Linked DNA regions of Homo sapiens: all the other regions are linked to region 6. The links are contacts of gene promoters, found by promoter capture Hi-C in blood cells and fetal thymus (Javierre and others, 2016). All regions are on one chromosome and are shown on one strand. The core of a region is centred on a gene start or on the middle of the fragment in contact, and the rest is flanking DNA. Distances in the headings are between cores, read along the strand shown.

Region 1 (2,700 bases), core at 3-2,502, 1.2 Mb before region 6:
TTTTAAAGGCTGAATGACATTCATTTTTGTATATACCATGTGAAAAATGCTCTTCTTTTGATTGTTTCTTCAATTAGTTGAAAATGTAAAAACCATTCTTAGCTCAGGGGCCATACAAAAACCACCAGTCTGGGCCCACGGGCTGTGGTTTAGTGCATGGACTTTGAAGCCAGATGGCCTGGGTTCGAATTCTGCTTTATCACTTACTAGGCTATGTGGCCCGGTTACATTACTTAGCCTCTCTGGGCCTCAGTTTTCTCATCTGACAGTTGGGAATAGACACAGTATATACCTCACAGACTATGATGAGAAATGCATGGGTTAATTTGTGTAAAATGATTCAAACAGTATCTGGTACATGGTATGTCTAAATGAGTGTTAGTCATTATTCCTCAAGAACCATATGCCTACATTTTCTTTGTGAAAATTAAAATAGTACAAAGGACAGTGAAGTCTCATTTGATTAGATTACTCCTTACCACCCCCCCACCCCCATAACCTTGGCTCTTCTGTCCCCTACTGGGAATAACCTTTCCAGTGTTTTGTTAGGTACATTATAGTATCACTTTATGCATCTTTTTATATTATTAATCACATCATACTGTACATATTCATTTATCTATCTGACAAATACAGCAGTGAACAAAACAAATGAGCATTCCTGCCTTCATGGGGCTTATATTCTTATGAGAAGAGACAGATACTTAACAAATGAATCAGTAATATACACAGGGTGTAATGCACCAGATGGTGATTTGTTGCAGTAAGGAGTGTGGTGGGGGTGCCCTTATACAAGGTGGTCCAGGAAGGCTAAAGTGAGGTGACATTTGAATAAGGACCTCAGGAGTTCTGGAACTTGCTTTTCCCACTCTGCCTGATGGGCTCAGGACATAAGGCAGACCGGCCTCATCCTTTGCCGAGGATCTTCCAGAGGAGGGATGCTTCACGGTCATTTAGTTATTTCGTGTATTGGTGGACTTTGCTAATTTCTTTCAGTAATAAACAGAGCTACAACCAGCTGCTCCATCACGCCGTCTCCTGCCTATGACTGAGGCTTCTCCAGATAGACAGAGAAGTGTACACGCTGCGGCAAGGGGCGGGGCACATGAAGTTCATAGAATCTGCCAGGTCGCCCCCACACTGGCCGTGCACTGCCATCACCTCCCTGCAGAGCCACCCAACACCCAGGCCCACTTTTGCCAGCTACCTGGAAGCCTCTTTTCGGGTGGACTCAACTCTAGGTCATTCTCACTTCCCTTCCCACTAACAACTGTCTTCCCCTCTCCAACCCTCTTCTGCCATTAGCGCTTGTCCTGTATCACTCTTTTCTCATCACCACTGCCTCTCTTTCTGCCCTTGACATCTGGACCCCTTTGGTGGCATGTGCCCATCTGTGGATTAGTGACTTGGGACAGAGTCCTCAGAGGCCTTCTGAGGGGGGCTTACGAAGGGTTGCCGCTTCCTCCCTGCCTGGGCCTCCCAACAAGGCCCGCCCGAGGCCAGCAGTGACATTCTGCCTTGCCAGAGGCATCTTACTGCCTGATCTAGGGCCCAGGGCACAGGGCTCCTGAGCTCTGCCTTGGCTGGAAACCCCGGGCTCACCCCTGTTCCCTTGACGCTTGGGCTCCTGCTGCCCACTGCTACCCTCAGGATTTGAACCCTGGACCTGAGCCAGTTCTGACTTCACCGCCCCGCCCTCTGCCCACGTCCCTGTTAGAGCATCTCTGTTCCCAGGCCCCTGGTAACTGGGGGGCCAGGAATCCTCTCACGCCTCCCTCACAGGGCTGTTCTCATTCACAGGGGGAGATGTGTGTGGGCAGGAAACAGGGCAAAAGGACGGACGTTCTATGTCCCCATGCTTAGCCCCAAAAGAATCCTGAGCACCCCGGGATAACTTGATTATCGGGCTGCTCTGAGATGAGGCGTGGATGTGGTGAAGAATTTTAAAAAGGAGGGAATGTATTTTTCAGGATATTTAGAGAATCCGCCTGCACTGAGGCTGGGAGGAGGGAAACAGCGTGCTTAGCCCTGGGACTGGAATTTATATTCCAAGGAGTCCATGCCGGACTGCCTCATCAGAACTTTGGAATTAATTCACTTGGGAGGCTGGAGGCCTACTATGTGCAGAATGAGACTTGAGGGCAGGCCGGGGGCGGCTTCTGCCACTTGGGCCTGGACCCATCAGACTTACAGGGAGCCCAGGATGACCTGTCGGAGGCAGAGGGATCTCCATGTGTGCCGGGGTTTCCAGAACAGAAGTGGGACAGAGTGTTTTTTGGCCGTTGAGCACCTAGTCAGCCTTCTCCTGGTGGAAACTCCATTCTTATTTGGGGCTCTATTCCCAGCCAACGTTCCAGCGTAGAGCTCCTGCTACCCCCATGTCTGGCTCAGGAGTGGAGCATGTGACTTATAGTCCAGGGAACCAGGCATCCTCCTGGCCACTCTGATTGGCTCAGGGACAGACATGGGACTGATCCAGAGCCAATGAGATGCACTGAGACTCTCTGGGACTCCTGGGAAAGAGACTCCCATGCTTGCAGCTGGCCAGGAAGCTGGGAGGATATAAGGAAGGCCGCACTGCTACCAGGAGGAGAGAGAGCTTCTGTGAATACAGTCGAGCAGACAAAAACAGAGCTGACAGTAGAGAGAAATCAACTCCTTGGGGGTTCATTTGAACTCCTGGATCCACCCATGCCTGAT
Region 2 (2,700 bases), core at 167-2,666, 1.3 Mb before region 6:
TTTACCTTCAGGGTTACTCTTATGGTCACCTAAGTGTAAATGGGGATGCCAAGGGTTTGTCATATATGCCCCATCTCAGAGATAAAGAAACAGAAGCTTGGTGACAGAGATTGGGTTATTGTCCAAGATCATGGCTAATAAGAAAATTTATAGCTGAGTCTGCCTGACTTAGCCTGTATTCTTTGCTTTGTGTAACACTAATTTTACAATGTGGACTTTTAACAAGTGATATAAAAATGGAGTAGGTATACATAAAACATAGCTATCACTATTACATATGTATGTGTGTGTTTGTAATATGTATATATAATATACATAATGCAGAATATTTTTAAAGAAATATTGCTATTTTTGCAGTCATTCAATCATTTTATGCCATCAGTAACCTATCTTCAGGATTTTTGAGATTAATTTTCACAATTAAAAGTAGCAAAGGATTATTTTGACAATTCACAGTATAATCTTGTTTACGCTGATGGATGTTACTTTTTTTTTTTTTTGAGACGGAGTTTTGCTCTGTCGTGCCCAGGCTGGAGTGCAATGGCATGATCTCAGCTCACTGCAACCTCTGCCTCCTGGGTTCAAGTGATTCTCCTGCCTCAGCCTCCCGAGTAGCTGAAATTACAGGCGCCCATCACCACGCCTGGCTAATTTTTTACATTTTTAGTAGAGACAGGGTTTCACAATGTTGGTCAGGCTGGTCTCAAAGTCCTGACCTCAGGTAATCCGCCTGCCTCGGCCTCCCAAAGTGTTGGGATTACAGGCATGAGCCACCATGCCCGGCTGTATGTTACTTTATATTTGAACATTTTCTCTGTATTAACTCCCCTCAGATAAACATAGTGACAGCAATTGTTATATATTATTTTATCCTTTTAGAGTGAGTCTTTCTCTGCACCTCTTATGATTTGGCAGTGTTAATTTTCTACTTGAATAGCCATGTTTTACATTTGCTACTGAAGATACTAAATAAAATATCTTTAAGCAATTTAGCAAGTAGCATCTTTGAAAATTATCTCATCAGTATATAAAAGTGATACATGTTTATTATAAAAGTTAGAAATTACCAAGCATGAAAGAAAACAGGACATGATGGAGAAAAAAATTGCCAAGCAAGAAAGATCAAATGCTTTGTGTGATTAACATCATTTAAAACTGAGATCCTACTTACTTTTGACCTCTGGGGATATTTTATCTTCTGTCCCTGATGTGTTTCATTTAATAAACTTTTTATGGACATCTGTTTTGTATTTGTCATGTGGCCCAGGGCTAAACTCAGGAGAGGTGGTTGAGGACAAATCATGTCTATTTTGGGCACGAGTGCACAGGTATTTACTCTTTCCCAGAATGCGTTTATCCCTTTTCCCTAGTCTCCCCCTGCTACTAATAAGATTTTTGGTCACCATTAAAATTCTGAATTTTAAACAGATTATTGGACTGGTGGTTTATTTCTGTCAGCTTATTCAATATTAGTGCCTTTTAAATCTCCAGTAGCTTTTGCAGAATTACCTTTCACTATGAAGCCCCATGAGTTTTCCCAAACCAAACTTGGTTTTCTTCAGTATGTTTTCTAATGAATATGTCATAGAAAGGATAAATATATGGGCAAGACTTTTTTTTTTTTTTTTTTTTTTTGAGACGGAGTCTCGCTCTGTTGCCCAGGCTGGAGTGCAGTGGCGAGATCTCGGCTCACTGCAACCTCTGCCTCCCGGGTTCAAACCATTCTCCTGCCTCAGCCTCCCGAGTTGCTGGGACTACAGGTATGTGCCACCACACTCAGCTAATTTTTTGTATTTTTAGTAGAGATGGGGTTTCACCATGTTAGCCAGGATGGTCTCGAACTCCTGACCTCATGATCCACCCACCTCGGCCTCCCAAAGTGTTGGGATTACAGGCACGAGCCACCGCGCCTGGCCTGGGCAAGCCTTTTCAATGTCTTTCCTAATTTGTCTGGAGTCAGTTTATTGCCCACTTCTTTCAAGTTATTTGTCTGTACCTTTTGGGTCACAACTTCCATCATCATTGGGATTTGGCATATCTGTTGGTGCTGAGCATAAGAGATTGCCCAAGTCTGATTATTGCATTTCTTAGTAAAACCTATACAAAACAGATAACTATTGGCAATCTTGACATCAGCAGGAGCTTCCTATGAAGTCTGCCATGTTTAACCATGGAGCATATTTTGTCACAGAAAAGATTACTGAGGATGTCCAGGTCAAAAACTGTGTGACCAGTTATTATGGCTTGGATCATTCTGTCTGCATTCAAAGACATAGAAAAGGCCTGAAAGCTGATCCAAGACCAGCCATGGAAGCTGGTCACATAGTTTTTGACCTGGATGTCCTCAGTAATTAGTCTGAATTTTCTAAGGGCAGTTTCATCATTATGCAGATCAGCAAGGTTCATTTCAAAAACACAGTTCTTGAGGCCATCAGATGCAGTTTTGGTTCCTTGAGCCCTTTTGACTAGTTTGTTACCAATTAAACACAGCTGGTGCTTTCACATCATATCAGTCTTTTTTAGGAAATGGATTAACCACTTTCTTCTTTGCTCCCATTCTGCCACTTTTTGTAAGGCACTTGCTTTTGCCAACCACCCTAGTGCTGCTTAGAGTGAAAAGGCCTAGACAGTTTTTAAGGACCATCTATTGTCATGAAACCTTCTTTAATTTCATAGTATTTTTGAGTATGTATATTTGGT
Region 3 (2,700 bases), core at 151-2,650, 1.2 Mb before region 6:
GGATTACAGGCGTGAGCCACTGCACCCAGCTCAAATCATGTTTAATCACATTCTAGCTGTGCAAACTTGGACAAGTGACTTCTCTCTGCCTCAGTTTTTCCATCTGTCAAATGGAGAGAAGAAATCTCTGTATTTTAAGTCAGCCACGGCTTTCTTTGTTCCCCTCTCTCCTGTGTCTACTTCATACCTGCTATTGGTTTCCTTGTATCTGCATACGCTGTTGGTTTCCTTATATCTGCATATGCCTTTGCTTTCTTTTTATCTGCATACACTGTTGGTTTTATTCACAAGTCACAGATGCAAAATTCAGTCAGATTCAGACATGAGACTTAGCTGGATCATGTTGCAAAAATGTGTTGTTCCTAAGAGTGGGTATTCAGCCACTCACCTGTTGATTCGGGCCCCAAATCTAGCGGCTGCCCTTGAAACGTATCTTTTCCATAACCCACATACCTAACCCATTGATCAGTTTATTTCCCAAATATACATCAGGTGGGACCGCATCTCAGCACCCGGGTCTGAGCTTCCATCATCACTGCCCTATCACCCCATCGGCCTCTGAATGAGTGTCCTGTTTCTGCCCTTACCCCTGCGATTTAATTTCATCAAAAGAGCTGGGGGATCCTGTTAGAACCTAAGTGAGGTCACGGCCTTCCTCTTCTTAAGGCCCCCTCATCCATGTCTATTTTACTAAGAATCAAACTCAAAGCCCCCACCATGGCCACAAGGCCTGGTGCAACCCGGGCCAAGTCAGCTCCTCAGCTTCATCTCTCTCCATCACGGCCCCAGCTCCCTCCACTCCGGCTCCCTGGCACTTTTTTTTTTTGCTCCAAACCACCGAGCCCATTTCTATCTCAGTATCTTTGAATTTCCTGTTCTCCTCACCTGGAATGAGCCTCCCTTAGTTCTCTGGCTCCTGACACAGTGCACTGAATGCAACAAATGCGTAATAAACATCTGCTGGATGAATGAACAAACGTGCAGGGCATCGGAAATTCTAAGCATGACTATAGCCGAAACAGCGTCGGGGCTACACAATGTGAGACCAAGAAGCTCTGAGGTCCAGGTGCTGCCTGCAAGACCCCTCTGCAAAATTCTTCAAGAAACGAAACACACCTCTCTGGCCACAGTCTGCAGACTCCCCATAGTTATCAAATGCGCCTCATTCTAAATGCTGCCAGGAGATAGGTATCCTATGTGTCAAATTGTCAATAAAAGCTCTGGGCTCTGATTGCTTCCTGGCTACAAATTCTTTCTGCACTGAGAAGCTCCCGGAGGAAAAAAACTATACTTGTGATCATTAATACAAAGCATTGCAAGGAACAACTTGGTTTTATGTAAATTGCCTTTTCCTGGTAGCTAAAAGACAAATTCAGGTTGTCAAGGCTAACCTAGTCAACCTTCACATTTGTTGCCACCAACAACACGCTGTTATCCTTTAAGAGTGGACAGAGGCTGAGGGATCACCCTTCACGGGATCAATGATTGACAGTCTTTGCCACAACCCACAAGAGCCTCCAAAATTTGGCTCCAGGCTCATGTCTCATCTTTTTTTTTTTTTTTTGAGACAGAGTCTCACTCTGTCACCCAGGCTGGAGTGTAGTGGCATGACCTCCACTCACTGCAACCTCCTTCTCCTGGATTCAAGTGATTCTTGTGCCCCAGTCTCCTCAGTAGCTGGGGTTACAGGTGTGCGCCATCATGCCTGGCTCATTTCTGTAGTTTTAGTAAAGACGGGGTTTCACCACGTTGGCCAGGCTGGTCTCGAACCCCTGACTTCAGGTGATCCACCTGCCTCGGCCTCCCAACGTGCTGGGATTACAAGCATGAGCCATAGCGCCCAGCCTGTTCTCTTTAACTCTTTGGAGAAATCCAGGAACGGTTGTGCAACTGGAGAAGGGTAGAGACCCCTAACCTTGAGGACCCAGTTGTGACCCCAAACACGTGTGGGTGGCCCGTGTCTTGGTTTCAATGTACTCAAAAGTGAGCACGACGCATCAACACCACCGCCTTGCCTCAGGAGCCTCAGCCTAACCCAGGGACCCTGCTCCGAGGGGCCGAGGTGCCACCCTGGGGCCCCGAGGCTTACCCAGCTCCACATCCTGGTCGTCCGTCAGCACCAGGATGATGTTGGGGCGGATGTTCCTGCGGTCCCTCTGAAACCTGCCTTTCAGGCGGTGGTGCGACAGGAAGGCCGAGCTTCCACCCAGCAGGGAGAACACAGTTGCGGACAGCAAGCACAGCACGAGGCTCGGGGGGCCCATCTTCTTTTTTTGCTGATCTGGTGCTTCTTTTGGGATGCGGGAGTCTCAAGTTGCGTCTGTGGCTTTGTTTCTTTTCCCTCGTCCCTCTTCACTCGCAGATCTAGAGGAGGAGGAAGAATCAGGTCAATATTTATGTCAAGGCTGCCGGCTGCTCATTCTTGCATAATGATTTGTATGGCGGCTGGCATGAACAATGGGAGTTTCTTTGAACAGGGGTGGCTATGGCAGAGTGAAAACCGAACTCCGCTGAAGTTAGCAAAGTCTTTACAGTTTGCTTGGTCAACAGACTGGCAGAAAAGCCTTCTGTGGCCACTTCTGCAGAAACAATTTCTTCCCTGGATCCAGTGAGCCTCTGATGTGTCGGTGGCAGCCCAAGACCCGAGTCAGATAACAGCCGTCTCTGAATAATCCACCCAACTCCACAGACAAATCGTCC
Region 4 (2,700 bases), core at 179-2,678, 1.1 Mb before region 6:
GGGTTCTGAGCAGGGCAGGAGGGTGAACTGAAGGGCTCGTACCAGGAGCTAGAGTCACAACAACCTCTCCTCCTTATTCTAGATAACACATCTGCTCAGTTCTATGTACGCCAGAAACATTGATTTCTTCCCATTTTTTAACCACTCCCAGCTTATTTTTAAGTAGAAAGGAAGCCACCTAACAAACCCAGAAAACCCCACAGAAGAATAAGACCTCGTTTGGGGAAAAAGGCCCCAACCTCCCCCAGCTCTTCCCTTCTGCAGAGGCAAGAAATTTTCCAACTCAGCCTCTGCCCTTGAGCCCTGTGCTCAAAGCCGCCCAACAACATGGAGGTTGCCCTGGAGTCCAGGAGGGAAGGCTGCTGTCCCTGGGAGCCCCTCTCATCAGGCAGGTATTGGCTTGTCAGTGGCAGGATGGGGCGGGGGCGGGGGCAGTGATGATGAGGCTCTGCAGGCTTCAAATGGGGGTGCTGGGCCAGGGCTCCGGGGCCAAGCTTGGAAGGATGCTCATCATGCCTGGCTGGGCAGGAGACCTGGAAACATCTCCCAACCTGCCGGAACTCCGCCTGGGATAACACAGCTTTTCCACCTGGGCCAGAATCAACTGCTGCTAGAGTTTTTTACAGGCAGCTCCCCAGGAAGTTTCTGGCAAGATGGCAGCTTCCAGGGCAGGGGCTCCTGATTTGAGGCAAATGGTACAGCCTGATCTGCTCCGAAAGGGATGACAGGGCTGATCGTTAACCTCTGTGCTCCATCCCATATGCCAGCGTCTCAGAATAAATAAATGAATTTTTAAAAGTCTGGTATAAGTAGAATACCCAAATCTGGGCCTAAATTCATTCATTCATTCCCTTTCTTATTTCAATAAATTTATTTAGAAAGAAAAGTCTATCTTGGAGGAACCAGCACCCATTGCCATAAACCTGGGTCTCTCAACCTTGGCATTACTGCCGCGTGGGCAGGATCATTCTTCGATGGGGGACTGTGCTGTGTATCACAGGGTGTTCACAGGCCTCTGTCCATGAGATGCAAGTAGCACCTACCCCAGTTGTGACAATCAAAAATATCTCCAGACACTGCCAAATGTCCCCCTAGGGGGCAAAACTGCCCCTAGGTGAGAACCCCTGCCATACTTAGATGGCAACAGTATAAAGGCAATGACATTGTGGTTACATTCTTGCTTGCCAAGGCCTCTGCGCTTCCCCTTACATTGGGAGTAGGTCTCCTTGAAGACCATAAAGGAGGAGTTCACGCGATTCCCTCCTTGATGACCCAGAGGCTTGGAGGAGAGCAGAAAAGGAAAAGGGGAAAAAGGAAAAGTTAAAGGTTTTTACGTTGGAAATGGCATTTCCAATGTAGTCCAGGCCCTACCCCGTCTCTTATCCTGAATCTAGGCCACTTCACTCACTCAGGTCTCCTGCCCGACCCTCCTCCTGCCATGACCTGCTTATGATGAGATCAACGCCACTTACGCCCTGTGCGTGGACGGCTAAGATGAAGACTACACCTTGATCCAGTCAATGGGACCTGGTTGGTGGAGGCCACCGGTCTGGCACAAGACTTGGCAATGCAAGAAGTCTGGATGTTGTCTGGTGACCTTTGGAGAGAGATATGTTTGCAGTGGCCTTTGTCTAAAGCAGGGACAAATATGCAAATGCATCCAAGGGTCGGGCAGGAGACCTGAGTGAGTAAAGTGGCCTAGATTTAGGATAGAGATGGGGTGGCGCCTGGACTACACCGGAAACACCATTTCCAAAGTAAAAACTTTCAACCTATTTTAAGCACTGAGCGGGCTCCATAAAGCCCCGCTGGAGCTTGGCCTGGGAGCTATGTGCGACTCTTCCAAGCTATCCAATCTTTCCTGAGCACCTACTATGTGCCACATGCTAAGAAACAGCAGTGGCCACAAGGCAGGCCAGGCCTCTGTCCTCATGGAGCTGTGATACCTTGGTGGAGGAGAAAATGAATGAATGAAGATTGTCTTAAGAGCTTTGGAGGAAGCTGTCAGGTGATAGGATGGACAGTAAATTGGGAAAGGCCTCTCTGGCATGAGGAGGTGGCATAAGGAAATGGCATCTGAGCTGAGAGCAGAGGCGGGCGAGAAGCCAGTTGTGGGCAAAATGCTTTCTATGAACGGAGGAAGTAAGTGCAAAGGCCCTGGGGTGGGAATGTGCACAATGAAACCAACATGGTGCAGCCGAGCACGGCAGTGTGGCCCACAGGAGGCTGGACACCCCTTTGCCCCAGCCCATGCCTTCTGGGCAGGCCACACCCGCTGTCCTTTCTGGCTGTTTAGAGGAAGTAGAAATCAGATACAGAAATTCCCACCTCTGTTCTTTGTTCCTTTGTCTCAGCTGTGGACAAAAGCTTCCCTGGCAGGGAGTTACAAAGTTATTTCTGCAAAAGGCCTTTGGCCAAAAGCAATAAAGTCCGACTTGAACAGAGTCATTATTCACGCCTAACTGTGGGCTGGTTCTCAGTGTAGACTGCCACAGTGGGGACTGACAATTCCACCTTTTTAACCCCCTCCTCCTTTTCAGCCCCACATTTTCTTAGCCCTGCTTACCCCCACAGAACATGTATTTATGTTTCCAGAGATTGTCGTTTCCTTCCAGAAGAATATAAAAGGAATAAAAGGTATTTTGACGGCTTGGTATTAATAATCCAATTACTTCTTTCCTTTTCACCCAATCCACAGGC
Region 5 (2,700 bases), core at 66-2,565, 1.2 Mb before region 6:
AGATACCCAACACAAGGCCCCTCCTGAGGACCCTATTCGGAACTGCGCCCCCTCCCCACCCTCCCTGCTTTATCTTTCTCCTGAAGACTTATCACCATCTCATATGCTATATAATTTACTTATTTCTCTGGCTTATTGTCTATTGCCCAGTTAGACTCTAAGCTGCAGGAAGGCTGGCTCAGGTGGTCACTTCTGTATCTCCAGGACTTATACCCTTAGAACACAGAGGAGCTACTCAGTAAATATTGGCTAAGTGAATTCCCATACATCTGCCACCTTTCCTGGCTCCTGTTTCTTTTTTTGAGAGGTGTCTTGCTCTGTCACCCAGGATGCAGTGTGGTGGCATGATCCTGGCTCACTGCAACCTCCACCTCCTGGGTTCAAGCGATTCTCATGCCTCAGCCTCCCGAGTAGCTGGGATTACAGGCATGCGCCATCACACCCATAATTTTTGTACTTTTAGTAGAGGTGGGGTTTCACCATGTTGGCCAGGCTACTCTTGAACTCCTGACCTCAGGTGATACATCCGCCTCAGCCTCCCAAAGTGCTGGGATTACAGGCATGAGCCACCTCTCCTGGCTCTTGTTTCTGGCTGATGGCATTCCCAATGTAGGGTAAGGGACTTAAGGGGTGTGCCCAGCACAGGACCCAGGACCTGTTGAATGGTGGACAGTCCCGTCAGAGCATCTGAGTGCCTTCCCCGCTAGTTCCCTGGGGACCAGGGCAGGGCCTGGGTCCTAGGGTTTCCGTCATCTTTAACCCCTCATCTCTCCCCAGTCCAGTGCCCTGTGAACGTCGGGCAGGCTGCCAAGCATGTGTGCAGCTGCTGAAGATGGGGCTGTGTCATGGGGGGCTCGAAGGCCAGCGTGAGGCGCTACAACTGAATCCAGAGGCGAGGGAGCTGGGAAGACTGCTGAGCGACGGGCGCTCTGCAGAACCCAGCAACCGGCAGCTAATGGGGCTGAGCTTGTCCAGTGGTCCCGCTCCCCCAGGCTCAGGGGAAGGAGGACAGTGGTTGCTTTTCCTGGCCAGCACCAATGCCTTGCTCTGTGTCACAGCTTCTAATTCTGTAGGAACTACCTGGCCCCATTCAGAGTCCCCTGCCCAATGTACTCAGCCTGGTTACTCAAGGGTTTCTGTCACCTCTGGCTACAGTGAATGGTTCAGGGAAGGACACGTGACCTAAGTCAGGCCAGTGGGAGTCAGCCTCAGGTCTTCTGTTCAAAGCAGTTTGGCTTCCTAAACAGGATGGCTGAAAATCTGGAGCTGCTGACCCTGCCACAAGGAGAAAAACCCACCTGAGAATGAAGCCAATTCGGCGGAAGTGGGACTGAGAGATAAGAAATGAGAGCTTTCCAATGGCATTGTAAGACTGCTGGATCCAGCCATGCCTGAGGCTGGAGCTGTGCATGGACTTTTCAGTAACTATAGTTACTGTGTTCCTTTTATCTTACATGCCTTATCTGGTTCAAAGGTCATTTCTGCTTGCAACCAAAGGAGTCCTGGCTGACAGATACCGTGTGTCTTTGGTCCCAAACCTGACATGAGCACTCTCTTTTTCTTGACCATGTGGGATGTGGTTTTGGGCCCTATGAGTCAGATCACAGATTCCGAGGCTGACCAAACCCCCAATGTCAGTGTTTGTAGAGCCCTCAGTGGGTCAGATTCTTTCTGTTCACAGGGATGGTTTGAAGTTTCTGAGAGGCGTGGCAGATGGGAATAGAGACTGCCTGGTTTCAAGCCCCAGCCCCTTCCCTTACTTGCTGTAAACTCAGGCAACTTAACCTCTCCGTGCCTCAGTGGCCTTGGGTGTAAAATGGGGCTACTATGAGCATCCACGTCACAGGGCAGTTGTGATGCTGAAACGAATTATTAATTGTTTTTGAGATGGAGTCTCACTGTGTCGCCCAGACGAGTGCAGTGGCATGATCTCGGCTCACTGCAACCTCCACCTCCCAGGTTCAAGCGATTCTCCTGCCTCAGCCTCCTGAGTGCTGGGATTACAGGTGTACGCCACCATGTCCAGCTAATCTTTGTATTTTTAGTAGAGGCAGGGTTTCACCATGTTGGCCAGGCTGGTCTTGAACTCCTGACCTCAAATGATCTGCCCACCTGGGCCTCCCAAAGTGCTGGGATTACAGGCATGAGCCACAGGGCCCGGCTTGCAATGAATTATTATGTAGTTCTTAGACCAGGCCCTGAAGAGTAGACACTCCATACGTGTGGACTGTCGTTATTACAGCTCTTAGTCCAATGGGGACGCTAAGAGCCAAAGACGGGCGTGATCTGATAAGGTCAACAGTCAGTCATCACTTTCTCTGGCCTTGAACTCATGCAGCCTGCCTCCTGGAATTCTCGCAAAATGTCCAAGGCAGTGGGAACATGTCAGTCTGGAATTCCACACTGCACTGTCAACGCCTTTTCAGGAGGAATTCCGCAGCCAGCCCTGTGTGAGTGCTGGGTGTGTGTTCCCACATCTGGGCATGAGCAGAAGGCAGACCAAATGACAGTCTTAATAGCAACACATCTGCTTTTCAAAAACCTCATTTGAGCCAGCCTCCATAATATCCCAGCCGATCCAAGGAAGCTGCTGCCGGGAACAGTGGCCTGTCCGCTCCCCTGCCCCAGACGCAGCATGTTCGCTGCCAGAACATGTCAACTCAAAGGTTAGCCCGAGGAGAATGGCTGGCTGAGGGCTGC
Region 6 (2,700 bases), core at 27-2,526:
GAGGGTCATATGGATGTGTGTATCTTGCCAGTGGCTGTGGTGAAACCCTGCTTGTGGAGAATAGACATAAACACACCTTCTCTCTCTCCCTCTCTGTCTTCCTTTCACCTCCCCTCTCCCTCCACCCCTTCCATTTCCTATTCTCCCAGCATGTTCTTTCCACTCTTCCTCACCTCCTTCCCCTTCACCTCCTTCCTACACCATTCCTTTTTCCATCTCTTTCCTGTTTTCCTAACTTGTTACTCTCATCTTTTTCTTTCTTTTCTGTTCTTCCTGACAGCTCCCCTTCCTACCTCCTCTCCCTTCACCCTTTCTCCTACTCTTTCCCCTCCTCTCATTTCTACCTCTCTTTCCTTTTCACTTCCCCTCTCCCTCCTGTCTTTCTCCTTTTTCTTTTACCTCTGTGCCTCCCTCTCACCTCTTCCCACACCACCTCATCTCCTCCATAACTAACTCACCTCCTTTTTGTTTGTTTGTTTTTTGAGACAGGGTCTCCTTCTGTGGCCCAGGCTGGAGTGCAGTGGTGCCATCACAGCTCACTGCGGCCTCAACCTCCGAGGCTCAAGCGATCCTCCCACCTCAGCCTCCCCAGTAGCTGGGACCACAAGCAGCGCCACCAGGCCCGGCTGTTTTACTTTTTATTTTGTAGAGAAAGGGTCTCCCTATGTTGCCCAGGCTGGTCTCGAACTCCTGGGCTCAAGCGATGCTCCCGCCTTGGCCTCCGGAAGCGCTGGGATTAGAGGCGTGAGCCGCCGCGCCGGGCCTCCCCCCTTCCCCTCCGCCGCCGCCTTCTCATCGCCCTTCCTCCTTCCTCCTGACGCCCCTTACTCCCGATCACTTCTCATTCATTCACCAGCTTCCAGTCCTCGCTCCCTCACCTCTTTTCTTTCCTACTCGCCTTCTCCTCCTGCCCCTTTATCATCTCTCCTTGTCACCGTTCTTTTTTGCCAATCCTCTCGTTCCCCTTCCTTTCCTCATCTCCTCTCTTACCCACGTCATCTCCATTCTCGTGCTCCCCTTCACCTCCCGTTACCTTGCGCTTCTCTCCTCTCATCTCCATCACCACCTCTCCCCGCTTTCGCCTTTCTTTAGCCCCCGCGTCCCCTATACCCTTCGCCCATGCCCACTCCCCTCCCCACCTTCTCTTCTTCCACCCTCCACCCTCGCCTTCTGTCTCTCGCCCACCTGACTCCGCTCCGCCCCCAGCCTTAGGCTCCGCCCCGCTGGGGGTCACGGGGCCGACGGACGCTAGGCGGCCGTAGCGGCCTCGCCAGTCACGTGGTCACGTGACGCGCTCCAACATGGCGGCGCCGTGGGGCCGAGGTGTCGCTTCCTGACGGGGCGGCGCGGACGGACGCGGCCGGTGCCGGCCGGGACGCCGGGCCCGCAGCCTAGCTCGCCATCTCGCTCACGCCGCCCGCCCGCGGGGCCGTCAGCCCCCGCCGGGCCGGGGCCATGCAGGAGAGCCAGACCAAGAGCATGTTCGTGTCCCGGGCCCTGGAGAAGATCCTAGCCGACAAGGAGGTGAAGCGGCCCCAGCACTCCCAGCTGCGCAGGGCCTGCCAGGTGGCGCTCGGTGGGTGAGCCGCTCCCGCCCTGCCCCGCGCTGGCCTCAGCACGTCGGCCGTTGCCCTATCCTACTCGGCCTTGGCCCGGCCTCCTGGCCTCCGCTTCCCCCCGATCCCGAATTCCACCCTTCCGGCCTCCTCCTCATTATACCCCCGGAGGAAGTGTTGCCCGGGCAGCTCGGGACTGGCCCAAGGTCACCTAGCAAGTTGGTGACAACCAGAGCTTGTTCCTCAGGGTTCCAGCTCAGGGCTTTTGCCACGATTCCTTGTCGCCCTGTTTCCTGGTTCCTCCCCTCACCACCTCCAAGTCCTAGAAACAGTAGCCCTTGCCCCAAGTTTTTTCGTTACCTGAGCTCTGCTGATTGGGGTTCCCCTAGGTGAACAGAGCATGTAGGAAGAGCCGTCCAACTGGTTTAGGGAAACCCCTGATTCTTGTTTTGGAAGTGCCCGTTGGAGAATGTTTTCCTTTGGTTTGGGGATCTCCCATAGCTCTTTCCCTCAAGGAAGGATTGTAGAAGGTGTTCTGGATCTCCCAGGCATTGTAGTGAGCAAGACATCTGCTTATTCCTAGCAGTCCACTAAAATACAAGGTCTTCAGCGCGAAGATACTTGTCTGACTTATTCATTGCTGTATCCCTTGCGCTTGCAACAGTGCCTGGCGCACAGTAGGTGCTCGATAAATATTTGCTGATTGAATGGACCCTCAGATTATGGAAAGAGGGAGAATTCTAACTAATAGTTAAAGGCTTGATAATTGATAGCAAAATCACTATCCTATCTTTCAGTTTTAATCATTTAACAAATATTTATCAAGTGCCCACTGCATACCAGGTACTGAGAATTCAGTGGGGAACAAGACGGACATGGTCCTTACCCCTATGGAGCTTATACTCGAATAGAGGAGACAAAATAATTAATTAAGAAAATAGGTGAGGTATTTTGGAATACTGATAAATACTATTTTGAAAATAAAACAGCAAGATGTGATAAAGAGGGCTTGAGGACTGCTTTCCATGGTCAGGAAAGTAATCTTTTCCAAGAGGAAAAGTAATCAGGTGGTCAGGAAAGTAATCTTTTCCAAGAGGGTGACACTTGAGCTGAATACTGAAAGGCAAGAACTATCCACCATATG
Region 7 (2,700 bases), core at 151-2,650, 1.3 Mb before region 6:
CCTCCCAGGTAGCTGGGACTACAGGAGTGTGCCACCACTCTTGGCTAATTTTTTGTAGAGATGGGGTTTCTTCATGTTGCCCAGACTGATCTCAGACTCTTGGGCTCAAGTGATCTGCCCACCTCAGCCTCTCAAAGTGCTGGGATTACAGGTGTGAAGATATTCTTTAAGCTGCAAAATTGCACTTTACTTTTTTTTCCCCAGTGCCAAACAGTAGCCCATCATATGCTAGCCAAAGACTTTTCAACATTGACCTTTTTGCAGTGTGAAAGTACTGGTTCAGTTTAGACGTGACTTAGCCAGGTTATTGTGTTTGGAGATATTACCTCATTGGCTGGTGCTGAGGGTCTGGAAAGCTGTTTTGGCAGACTGACGTGCTCTGCTTGCATTCTAACCAACTTGTCTCACCTCAGTTTTTGAATCAGAGCCGACAGGCACTTGAATTGAAAATGGAAAACCCTACTGCTGGTGGTGCTGCGGTGATGAGGCCTATGATGCAGCCCCAGGTGAGCTCCCAGGTGAGGATGATAAGCCTCTCCACATGCATTGCTCTGTGCTCAGGACAGGGCTTGGCCTGTGGTTGGCTCTCAGTAAATGTTTGTTAAACAAATGAAGGTAATTCTGAATTTCTTGTGTAAGAAAGCAGTCGCATTAAAGACTTTCGACTCTTCCATTCTTCTCTCTGGCTGGTGACTGGGAGGAATCAGAGGAGGGAGAGCTTTCTTCATTAAAACCATCGATTAGTGTTTTTTTAATTGGTTCCCTTTGTGATCAGTTGCTGTACTGTGAGAACAGCTATCACTTGGCTGTTTAGGAATTTAATAAATCTGTAAATGTTCCTCTGTTCCTGGATTATGAAACAACATGCACACTGGGTAAAATTCTGAAATTATAAAGAAGAAAATAAAGAATACATAATCCTGTTCTCAGTGATAGCCTCTGAGATGACCTGTTTCTTGTAGTAGGAGGGGATATTAAAATTCCCTTCTACTTCCAGCCAGTGGTGGAGACAGTATTGAGGGGTTTTTTTAATGTGCATGAGGCAGATGACCACACAGCAATCCTCTATTGTGATTTGAAATATCGTTTATAATTGTTTTTTAAAAAGCAACTGTGAAATGCTCGATTTTTATTGTCTTATGCCTACTTGGAAGTACTGATATTTACATTTTCTTGATAATAAAACATCTTGTGGAAGCTGAGCTAGAATGTCCTACAGAAAGATGATAAAAGCTTGCTTTTTGGAGATGACCCGTAGCTAGTAGAGCTGAAATCAGCTTCCTTGTTGTACTTCAGTTATGTCACCTTCTGAACCTCCAGATAGCTTCTGCTTGCCCCTTACCTCTTTCTGAAAGTTTAAAGAAAGTTCAAGATTTTCTGAGGTGGACCCCTGCTTATCTGAGTATAACCCCATCTTATTTTTTTTGGCTTCATGTTTCAGCCCTCCACCACCCCAACACACTGAATCCTCATTTTCCTGTAATTGTCTTTCATAGTTCCTGAAAAATTTGTCCTCAGATTCCACCCCTAAATGTTTTCTTACTTTGTGGAATGTTTCTAGTCATGTTAAAGCTTGACAGTGTGTTGTCTTTTGTCTTTTAACCCCAAATAATTTTCAGGTCCCTCTTCTTCAGTTCTCCCTCCCTCCCCTTGCAATAGCCAGAAAGCTTTTTTTTTTTTTTTTTGAGAGTCACTGTTGCCCAGGCTGGAGTACAGTGGCACGATCTCGGCTCACTGCAGCGTCAATTCCCTGGGTTTAAGGGATTTTCCTGCCTCAGCCTCCTGAGTAGCTGGGATTACAGGTGCTCATCACCAAGGCTGGCTAGTTTTGGTATTTTTAGTAGAGACAGGGTTTCACCATTTTGGCCAGGCTGGTCTCGAACTCCTGACCTCAAGTGATCCGCCCACCTTGGCCTCCCAAAGTGCTGGGATTACAGGCGTAAGCCACTGCACCAGGTCAGAAAGCTTTTATGTGAAGAATTGTATGTTTTGGCCGGCACAGTGGCTCACACCTGTAATTTAAGCACTTCGGGAGGCCGAGGTGGGCGGATCACCTGAGGTTAGGAGTTTGAGACCAGCCTGGCTAACATGGTGAAGCACTATCTCTACTAAAAATACAAAAATTAGCCAGAGTGGTGGTGCACGCCTGTAATCCCAGCTACTTGGGAGGCTGAGGCAGAAGACTCACTTGAACCTGGGAGACGAAGGTTGCTGTGAGGCGAGATTGTGCCACTGCGCTCCAGCCTGGGCGACAGAGTGAGACCCTGTTAAAAAAAAGAAGGCCCTGGGTGTTTTCTGTCTTATACCTGGTGTATTGTGGGGGTACTATATGTATGCAACTGGCAGGTTCTTGCTATATATATGTAATTGCACTCTTTCTTGGGTATTAGCAGGGTTTTCTTAATGCTCAAATGGTCGCCCAACGCAGCAGAGAGCTGCTAAGTCATCACTTCCGACAACAGAGGGTGGCTATGATGATGCAGCAGCAGCAGCAGCAGCAACAGCAGCAGCAGCAGCAGCAGCAGCAGCAACAGCAACAGCAACAGCAACAGCAGCAACAGCAGCAAACCCAGGCCTTCAGCCCACCTCCTAATGTGACTGCTTCCCCCAGCATGGATGGGCTTTTGGCAGGACCCACAATGCCACAAGCTCCTCCGCAACAGTTTCCATATCAACCAAATTATGGTAAATCTGACAATG

The links. Contacts are between HindIII fragments. The CHiCAGO score rates a contact against its expected background, and 5 or more counts as called.
Region 1: a fragment that was not itself captured here is called in contact with the fragment with the promoter of ARFGEF2 in region 6 in 1 of 17 cell types (total CD4 T cells); the score reaches 6.2 in total CD4 T cells.
Region 2: a contact is called between a fragment that was not itself captured here and the fragment with the promoter of ARFGEF2 in region 6, in 2 of 17 cell types (naive B cells and naive CD8 T cells). The highest score is 5.3, in naive B cells.
Region 3: a contact is called between a fragment that was not itself captured here and the fragment with the promoter of ARFGEF2 in region 6, in 1 of 17 cell types (M0 macrophages). The highest score is 6.3, in M0 macrophages.
Region 4: a contact is called between a fragment that was not itself captured here and the fragment with the promoter of ARFGEF2 in region 6, in 1 of 17 cell types (M0 macrophages). The highest score is 5.4, in M0 macrophages.
Region 5: a fragment that was not itself captured here is called in contact with the fragment with the promoter of ARFGEF2 in region 6 in 3 of 17 cell types (total B cells, naive B cells and total CD4 T cells); the score reaches 7.5 in total B cells.
Region 7: a fragment that was not itself captured here is called in contact with the fragment with the promoter of ARFGEF2 in region 6 in 4 of 17 cell types (naive B cells, naive CD8 T cells, naive CD4 T cells and 1 more); the score reaches 10.7 in naive B cells.

Annotation. Positions count from the first base shown.
Region 1 is chr20:47,695,922-47,698,621 of GRCh38, forward strand. All of the region lies in intron 4 of SULF2 (sulfatase 2), which reads right to left. Among named protein-coding and RNA genes, the nearest start is that of SULF2, 88 kb to the right of the region's middle. RefSeq lists an enhancer at 1,541-2,045. The HindIII fragment of the contact is 3,796 bases long and covers 1-2,700 here.
Region 2 is chr20:47,628,846-47,631,545 of GRCh38, forward strand. The region is part of intron 8 of NCOA3 (nuclear receptor coactivator 3); the gene reads left to right. It also overlaps the pseudogene LOC100419565. Among named protein-coding and RNA genes, the nearest start is that of NCOA3, 130 kb to the left of the region's middle. The HindIII fragment of the contact is 2,644 bases long and covers 95-2,700 here.
Region 3 is chr20:47,755,100-47,757,799 of GRCh38, forward strand. It overlaps SULF2 (sulfatase 2), which reads right to left. Exons shown (of 21, transcript NM_001387048.1): 2 at 2,090-2,364. The coding sequence starts at 2,264. Among named protein-coding and RNA genes, the nearest start is that of SULF2, 29 kb to the right of the region's middle. RefSeq lists an enhancer at 2,295-2,700. The HindIII fragment of the contact is 5,711 bases long and covers 1-2,700 here.
Region 4 is chr20:47,771,290-47,773,989 of GRCh38, forward strand. All of the region lies in intron 1 of SULF2 (sulfatase 2), which reads right to left. Among named protein-coding and RNA genes, the nearest start is that of SULF2, 13 kb to the right of the region's middle. The HindIII fragment of the contact is 1,873 bases long and covers 493-2,365 here.
Region 5 is chr20:47,679,822-47,682,521 of GRCh38, forward strand. The region is part of intron 7 of SULF2 (sulfatase 2); the gene reads right to left. Among named protein-coding and RNA genes, the nearest start is that of SULF2, 100 kb to the right of the region's middle. The HindIII fragment of the contact is 5,426 bases long and covers 1-2,700 here.
Region 6 is chr20:48,920,435-48,923,134 of GRCh38, forward strand. ARFGEF2 (ARF guanine nucleotide exchange factor 2) reads left to right here and starts at 1,277. Exons shown (of 39, transcript NM_006420.3): 1 at 1,277-1,576. The coding sequence starts at 1,456. RefSeq lists silencers at 1,038-1,117, 1,348-1,447, 1,488-1,537 and an enhancer at 1,908-1,987. The HindIII fragment of the contact is 17,186 bases long and covers 1-2,700 here.
Region 7 is chr20:47,648,592-47,651,291 of GRCh38, forward strand. It overlaps NCOA3 (nuclear receptor coactivator 3), which reads left to right. Exons shown (of 23, transcript NM_181659.3): 19 at 414-518; 20 at 2,391-2,685. Among named protein-coding and RNA genes, the nearest start is that of SULF2, 140 kb to the right of the region's middle. RefSeq lists enhancers at 1-279, 280-997. The HindIII fragment of the contact is 339 bases long and covers 1,232-1,570 here.